Linked DNA regions of Homo sapiens: region 2 is linked to region 1. Evidence: promoter capture Hi-C in human tissues and cell types (Jung and others, 2019). All regions are on one chromosome and are shown on one strand. Each heading gives the region's core, a stretch centred on a gene start or on the middle of the fragment in contact. The rest is flanking DNA. Distances are from core to core; before and after follow the strand shown.

Region 1 (4,253 bases), core at 1,000-3,499:
GGACACTGGGGCTGCCACCACCTTTTGGCTAGTATGAATGATACTGCTGTGAACATGGATGTATGAATACATGCTTAAGTTCCGGCTTCAGAGTCTTGTGGGTATATATCCAGAAGCGGCATTGCTGGATTATGCCGTAATTCTTTCTTTGAGAAATCCTCATCCTGTTTTCCATAGTGGCTGCACCATTTTACAGTGCCCTCCATTAACACTTTTTCAGGCTTTTGAAAAACTTAAAATATTTGCTCCACAATTTTTGCATGCTTTATTTAGTGTATGTACAGAAAAGCCTTTCCATGTTCTCTACCAACATTTTTTGAAATAACCTATTTGAACTTTTTTTAGGAAATGTGTTATATTGTTTAAAGTGTCAGTGAACTGGCTGGGCGAGGTGGCTCACCTGTAATCCCAGCACTTTGGGAGGCCAAGGTGGGCAGATCACTTGAGGTCAGGAGTTCAAAACCAGCCTGGCCCACATGATTAAACTTTGTCTCTCCTGAAAATAACAAAAAAAATTAACTGTAAAAAAAAATCGCCTGTAATCCAAGCTACTCGGGAGGCTGAGGCATGAGAATCACTTGAGCCTGGGAGGTGGAGGTTGCAGTGAGCCAACATCACACCAGTGCACTCCAGCCGCAACAGAGCAAGACTTTCTCAAAAAACAAACAAACAGGCAGTGAATTGTTTACGAAGACCTAAACGGCATTTTTTTTTTTTTTTTTTGGGACGGAGTCTCACTCTGTCACCCAGGCTGGAGTGCAGTGGTGCGATCTCGGCTCACTACAAGCTTCGCCTCCCGGGTTCACGCCATTCTCCTGCCTCAGCCTCCCGAGTAGCTGGGACTACAGGCGTCCACCACCACGCCCGGCTAATTTTTTGTATTTTTAGTAGAGACGGGGTTTCCCCATGTTGGCTAGGATGGTCTCGATCTCCTGATCTCGTGATAAGCCCATCTCGGCCTCCCAAAGTGCTGGGATTACAGGCGTGAGCCACCGCGCCCAGCCCTAAATGGCATTTTAAATATCCGGATATGCTTTTACCACATTACACTAAGGTACAGCCAGCCCCCCATTTCCATGGATACTGCACCCATGAATTCGACTAACCTCAGATTAAAAATATTTTGGGAAAAAAAGAAATTCCACAAAGTTCCCAAAAGCAGAGCTTGAAGTGATGTGTAGGTGTAGCATTAGGTGTTATTAGTAATCTGATTTCAAATATAGTAGAGGATGCGCTGAGGTTATATGTAATTACTACCCAGGTCATTTTCTATCAGGGACTTGAGCATCCACAGTCGGTCCTGGAATCAATTCCCCACCGCCACCCACACCAGAAACGCTACTGTATTTACTTCATCCCTCAAAGACTGGCTGTGATCTAAAGCCCTCATCTACAGCCGTTTCCTGAGTCATTATCATTATCACCTGGGGAGCTTTTGAAAAGTAAAGAATCTAGGACTCCACCCAAGCCTCCTGAATTAATTTCCAGAATCTGTTATCAGTCAAATGCTTCCCCAGGCCATTCAGGCGGTGAGCCATGTATGTGAGCATGTCTGTGACTAGCTTGCCACAGAGGTATATTATTCTCATTTTGCAGATCAGTAATCTGACACCAATGTCATGTTCATCCTGTTGGCCCACCTGGTGCCTCCAGGCTGCAATGCTTTTGCTTATACTACTCCTGCCTCCTTTCTAGACCTGGAGAACTCCTACTCATCCCACAAAGCCCAGCTCAATAGCTGCCCCATTTGTGGGCCTTCCCAGCAGGCACTGGGAATGGCACTAAGCCCTGAGCTACCTTAGCCTCGGCTTCACCACGCAGGACCACATTATCTCATGTGGATAAGCTTGTGCCTGTGGTCCCTTTACGGGGGGTGTTCCTGGGGCCAGGGCTGGGCATGGACATTGCTGCGCTCCTAGACCTGCACAGAAGTGAGTTTTCCAGTGCGGGTGAGAACGGCCCCCTCTGACCCCCACCGCGGTCCCACACGGGCAGGGGTCAGTGCGCAGCCCTCCCCACAGCCTCCCCTCGTGCCCAGGACTCACTCTGCTGCCCTGGGAGGCCCTGGCCCATTCCCTACGCGAGGGATTGAACCGCACGACCACAGTCACCCAGGTTCTCCCCTCCTCATCTTCGTAGATGCCAGGCCTCTGGATCCACAGACGGCCAGGGGGCACCCCTAGACGCACAGAAGCTTCGGAGGCCATGGCAAGTCTGCAACCGGGACCCGCCTCTAGGCTCACACGTGTAGCTTTCCAGCTGCGCAATCTCCTTAAATGGAGCAGCTCCGGCGTGGGTGGGGCCCGGGCCGGCAGTGGGGGCGGGGCCGGCAGTGGGGGCGGGGCCAGTCGGGGGAGGAGGGGGAGGAGGAGGAAGGGGGAGGAGGGAGGAGGGAGGAGGGAGGAGGAGGAGGGGGGAAAAAAGCAACCTGCAGCAGGGGCTAGGCAGGGACGAGGCCAAAGAGCAGCGGAGTTAGGAACCCGGCCTGGGTCTCCTGGAGGGGCTGTGGCTGGACCGGCAGCTGCTGGAGGCAAAAGGGCGGCTCCCGGGGATAGAGCTGCCCAGGCTTCACCCCAGGCCTCTGCAAGGAATTTGGCTCCTAAGACCTATTCCACCTCCCTTCCACTGGTCCCAGTCCCTCCGCAGCCTCCTCCCTGAGCACCCCTGCCCAATTTTCTGTCAGGTGATTCCCCTCCTTTGCTCCCCACGACCCCCTGCCAACCATCCTGCCCCAGATCCTGAGCTGGCATGCACGACCCTGGTCTCTCCTATCCCTGTGGCCATTCCTTTAACAGGACTCTGTGTCAGGGACCCTTCTCTGAGCTTAGAGCTTAGAGGCATGGGGGGCGGGGGGCGCTGTAACCTCAGTGGACTCTTGCCCCTGGAGGTATCTGGTGAAGGCGCATCCTGCACAAATCAAGCTCCCTCTCCTTAGAAAATAAGCCAGTGCACTATCAGCATCTGAGCTCAGGATCAGATAAAGCCCACAGAAACAAGGCCACCGGAGGCCACGTGGCCACCTGGCCAGCCCATCCTTGGCCATGGGGCCCAGAGTGCCCACTTGGCCTGGTCGTCTTACTTGCTCGACTTTGTCAAGAGGCCTCAGAAGCTCAAGAACATAGCAAGAAGCAGGTCCGTTCTATAAGCACCCTGGGCTGCTTCTAAATGCACCATGAATAGGAACCTTTTCCTTTTGAAAACCACAAGCATGATTCTTCTAGTTCAAGTGAAGATTAGTATTGAGATGATGCCATTCTGCTGGGGAGATGTGAAAATGATTTCTGGACAGTCCTGATCCAGTGTAAATGGCAGGTAGGATAACCACTTTTGAAGAACTCCCTGGGCAGCTTCTGTGGAGGACTGAGTCTTGTTTTCACAGCAATTCCACCTCCATCCCCAGTGTTTTTCCAAGGAACCAACACTTGGGGTGGGAATGGAGTGGGCCAGGAAGACAAGGGACATCACAGTCTCATATAATGTGATCCATACATGGAATCACGTACGTGTGTCACCTTTGCCATATTCCATTGGTCAGGGGTAGGTCCTATCCTTACTCAAGGTTATGAATACCAGGAGGCAGGGATCATGGGGACCCCTGGTCTCCTGGGCCCCCCTGAAGCCTGTTTGCTGTAGGTACCTACCCTATGGGACTCCTCTGAGGATCAGATGAGGCTGTGTGTATAGTGTTAAAGCCTGACACATAGTGAATACTTGAAATACCCTGGTCAATAGTTATGTTCTCAGACTAGTTCCCTCTCCCAGGCAGAATCCATCATTCCTACCCTTGTAACCCCAATGCAATTGCTATTTATCTCTATCATTTTCTGTTGCAAATATATATTTTGATATTCTCAACCTCACTCCCTGATGGGCAGGTGTGTGGCTGTCAGTGGGGTTGGAGGTAAAGGTTGCCTAATATGTGGGGAGCCCCTATGCCATGTCAGGCATTTTTCATAGGGTATCTCACTAACACCTCCCAACAACTCCATAAACTAGAGACCGTCACCCCCATTTCATAGATGAAGTATCAGAGGCTTGAGTGGCTTAGCAACCTGAATGAAGTGGGTAGCAGAGGAAGGATATGGACCCAGCTGTTCCTGGCTCTAACATGCATGCTGCTTGTTGACTGCCTTGGCCAAGTTTGGCTCATTACATGGAAGAGGCAGAACCTGGAGTAGGGAGATCCACAGTGGCTACTGTAGAAATGGTGGTGGGGTCTGAAGATGGAGACTGAGAACACCTTGCCATGAGTG
Region 2 (4,591 bases), core at 5-2,504, 140 kb after region 1:
CTGTGCTTGCCACTAAGAGCATGAGTTTTTGTGTCAAAGAGACCAGTGGTTAGGCCCTGACTCTTCCAATTACAAACCGTCAGCCCTCAGACAAGTCACCTGACCTCTCATCCTGTTTCCACCCTCATCTCCCAAGGTTTTTTTTTTTGTGAGAATTAGGTAAGCAAGATTCTCAGTAAAATACCTGATACATTGCGGACCTTAGATTAATGGCAGAGGACTGGACTGGGTAATGCAAGTCACATAAGATACATAAGGCCAAAATTCTCCATCTACCAGTCAAGCTTCAAGCGAAACAAAACTTGAAGAAATGTCACAACCAACTTCATTTCCAAATGGATCCATCACGGTAATTCATGGCCAACTCGGGCAATCCCACCTGTGCACTTTTCATGACTGTGACTGTCTAAGTTGGTGCAGGCCGTCAGTCACTTCTCCTCGAGATGATGAGTTGTTGAGTTTTTTTTTTTTTTAATTTTTAACAATTACTTTTACCCAGGGAAAAATCCCTGTCCCACAGCTATGGGTTGTCAGTTCCCATCTATCCAGCCACTGTGATGGGCTCTCTGTGGAGTGGATGATGAGGCTCTGTGCAGAACCCGAAGTGACTGGTGAGTCTAATGAAGGCCCAGAGCTCAGCAAGGTCCCTGTCCAGGGCTGAGGGGTGGGGGAGTGAGACCCGCTCTGCTCTTAAGCGCTCACAGCAGCCAAGAAACCAACCAGCATGCATGTGATCAGTCCTGTGTGCAAATGGCTCTGAGGACACACATGAGATGAGGGACACTCTGTGACAGCGCAGCTGTGCAACTACTCTGTTCAATTCTGAGCCACAAGGATGATGACTGTAACAAAATGGTAAGAAAGAAATGTGGCTTCAATCTTAAGACATAAAAGATTACTCTTAACATTCCTCTTCATCAGTCTACTTCCTTTTCTACTTGTATGTTGAGATGACTGTGCTTTCAAAAACATAGTCGGCCATTAAAAAGCCTGTATTGGTCATGTTAAAAACGAAGATGGTCAAAGCATGGCATATAATAACTAACACTTATGTGACACTTTTATATTTACATAGATAGATATTTTTAAATGGCCAAAATGAGCATATGGATAAACAAAACGGAAAAGTCAACAGATTGTTCAAGTCCAGTACAGTTTACACAAATCGATTTTTATGTAAACAAACTAAAAATACAAAAACTTGCTCTTGATACCCTATAATTTATTATCAAACATTTTCCAAATAAAATTACTGATTTCAGTTATATCACAAGTCCCAATATACTATTTATTTTTTTCTTAAAAGTTATTGCCTTATTAAAAAAACTGACTTTGCTCTAAATGACAGCCCTAAAGAAAGCCCCTGAACCAAGGGCTTTATCTTCCTTCTCCAGACTTCACATATTAAGAAAGGGTTACATTGCTCTAGGCCTCCAAAAGGACACCTCTCAGCCACTCTGGGTGCTAGTAAAGAAACAACAGCTAGCTCTTTGGCAGCTGCCAATAAAGGGTAAATTCCATTAATCATCAAAATGTCTTTATAATGCCAAATATCTAGACATAGTAGAATACCCTGATGAATTCAAGTTGTTCATCATGGTGATGTTTGATGCTCCATCAACAAAAACAACTAGCATAATTTGTGTGTTTTTTTACTTTCTTCAAACTCTGTCCTCAAATACAAAGTCTATCAAAACTCACTTTTTACAATGATGCCGATTACAAAACTTTTACCTTTATGATGACTGAGAGCTGGGTGCGAGAATTAAGAAATATTTAAAGTAAACGTGAGCTTCTTTTCATTATCTTCAACTTTCTTAAATACCTTTTATACAAATGAATCATTTATGTGCATGAACGACCTGTTTTGTTTCAATGAATAATATATTGTGTGAAGCTTTCCATGATAATCAATTTTTACTGATTTATTTTGATGGATGTCTATAATTTCTGAAACACACCAAAAATGGAAATGTTTGCTGCCTGAGAACTACCCAAAACTACATGTTTTACCCAAAAAATACATGTTTTTAAAGTAAAATTGCTTTTCATCAATCACTTTTATAGTATCACACTCAATCGAAGCATTGGGCTTGCCTCATTGATTAAACTTTATGTTGCTGTTGATCATATGTCCTGACTACGAGAGAAGGGGAGACCCCCAGAATCCTTACCACCAAAATTATCAAAACAAGCAGGCTTTCAGACATTCTCAACACCCAACACACACAGCCACATGCAAGTGATACTAACTTCTCATGAGCCACCTGCCTGTTCTTGACAGCAGCTGACGGTTTATCAAAATTAAACTTAGCTGCTTCTTTAATTTTTAGATGAATAGGTGTAATAGGCAGCTGGCATCAAGGCCAAACGTTGGCACCCTTCTTAATGACTATGCTCTTTTCCATTTTTAAGAAAGTTGATTACCAGTTTAAATATTTAAGGAAATACCCAATTGCTTCCTATAGAGTGAAGTGAGAAACTCCTAATAATAATAAAAGACTACTCTTCATAAGTTGAATATTAAAATGAATCCTGCGGATCCACAAGTAACTGTTTACACATGGTTAATCTCTCTCACACTTTAGTTTTCAAAAACTGCAATATGCAGTGGTAGTTCTTACAAATATCACTTGAAATTAACTCAGAATCAGAGAGCTACTCCTGAAAATTAGAAAATCACATCCAAGAATGAATTTTAATGATAATCATTATTTCATATGTGATAGACGGTGGTGATTCCATCTGGGGCAGAAAATGCTGACTGCAAAGTTATATGGCAGAGTAACACTAGGAACTGGGAGTTAGGAGGCTATCTTACAAAGTCAGTTTACACGCATCTAATGCTCCACCAAAAAAACCCATACAAACAAATTCATATTCCAAAGTATCAACCCAGAAAGAGTACAGAAATGATACTTTAAAATTCCCTTCCAGAACTTTCAAAAGGTATTTTTCAAAATTCATCACATTCAGAACACTGGGCATTACTCCTGATTTGGACACTAAATTACGAGAGCAGCATAATCATAGTTTTCTTTCTTTTTATTTTTCCTGGTAGAACCTCACTACAGTAGCTTCAGAATCTGATATGAGTTCCAACTCTGTCTCTTACCTACTAGACTCTGTGATCTTGGGCAAGTTACACCACCTCTGAGAGTCACAATTTCTTCATATTCTCTAATTTAGAGAATGGCGTTAAGTCGAGATAAGATGATCTGAGCTGAAAGCACGGAAATCAGTAGACCCTCACTAGAGGAAAAGCAAGGCACGGGGCAGAGTGGGCAAGGCACAGGCTTAAGGATCAGTAGATCTGGTTTGCTAGCCTGTAAATGTAGCCTCAGACAAATCTGTTAATCTTTTAGCCTCAGTTTCCTCATCTGTAAAATGGGAATATACTCTACGCCTCACATATTATGAAGATTCCATGATATCTAAGGAATGAAATGAATTGAGCTCCCAGCATAGTACCAGGTACAGTGTGGACATTCTCTCCATACCAACATGCTCCACCACCCACCCTTCACAGTAATGCTTTTCTGAGAAAGGCAACAGAAAAAGCATAGGAAAATAAAGCAGGAAAAAGTGATTAAGTATACCCTAAAGTAATGAAAACGCCATTCAGGCCAGGTGCGGTGGCTCACACCTGTAATCCCAGCACTTTGGGAGGCCAAGGCTGGTGCATCACCTGAGGTCAGGAGTTCAAGACCAGCCTGGCCAACATGGTGAAACCCTGTCCCTACTAAAAATAAAAAAAATTAGCCAGGCATGGTGCCAGGTGCCTGCAATCCCAGCTCCTTGGGAGGCTGAGGCAGGAGAATCGCTTGAACCCGGGAGGCAGGGGTGGCAGTGAGCCGAGATTGCCCCCTGCACTTCAGCCTAGGCAGCAGAGTAACACTCTCTCAAAAAAAAAAAAATATATATATATATACCATTTATTGAGTTAAGGATTACTGAGTTTCATACTCTTTAAGCGTTTTACAAAAATAATCTTATTTAATCTTTACAAAAATCTGACAAGGCAGGTACAATTATCCCTACTTTACATAAGATGAAGAAACTAAGGCTCAGAAGGGTTAAGTAACTTACCGAAACTCACAGTGACAGCGCAGTGAAACCAGGATTTATATCCAGGCTTCCAGGAGTACAAAAGCCCAGACTCTTAACCACATGCTACCTGAGTCCCTCACCAGAGGTGGCCTCTACCCTCTAGCTGCCATCTCACTCCTGCCCAGGAGCTACAAGTGCACTGCACACATATCTGCAATATATGGGACTGTTTTATGCCTTTAACATTTACATATACAAATGGTATTATGCCATAATTACGTGTTTGCAACTTGCTTTTTGACTAAATATTGTATTTTTGAGATTCAGCCATGTTAAATACATCTAGATCTAGTTCATTTTAACTACAGTTTAGCTTTCCATCATGTGACTAAAGTTTATTTATCTGGTCTGCTGCTAATAGACCAAGATCCCTTCCTGTCAGTTTTTCATTATTGCAAGCCATGCTGCAATGAACGCGCCAACACAGGTATCCTAACACAGAGGTCCCCAACCTTTTTGGCACCAGGGACTGGTTTTGTGG

What was found. Contacts are between HindIII fragments. The study calls those that stand out against the background at their distance.
Region 2: a contact is called between a fragment that was not itself captured here and the fragment with the promoter of TCL1B in region 1, in 1 of the 25 tissues and cell types used here (lymphoblastoid cells).

What each region holds. Positions count from the first base shown.
Region 1 is chr14:95,684,422-95,688,674 of GRCh38, reverse strand. It overlaps TCL1B (TCL1 family AKT coactivator B), which reads right to left and starts at 2,249. Exons shown (of 4, transcript NM_004918.4): 1 at 2,046-2,249. The coding sequence starts at 2,207. The HindIII fragment of the contact is 12,005 bases long and covers 2,021-4,253 here.
Region 2 is chr14:95,539,224-95,543,814 of GRCh38, reverse strand. All of the region lies in intron 1 of GLRX5 (glutaredoxin 5), which reads right to left. Among named protein-coding and RNA genes, the nearest start is that of GLRX5, 6.5 kb to the right of the region's middle. The HindIII fragment of the contact is 4,983 bases long and covers 1-3,745 here.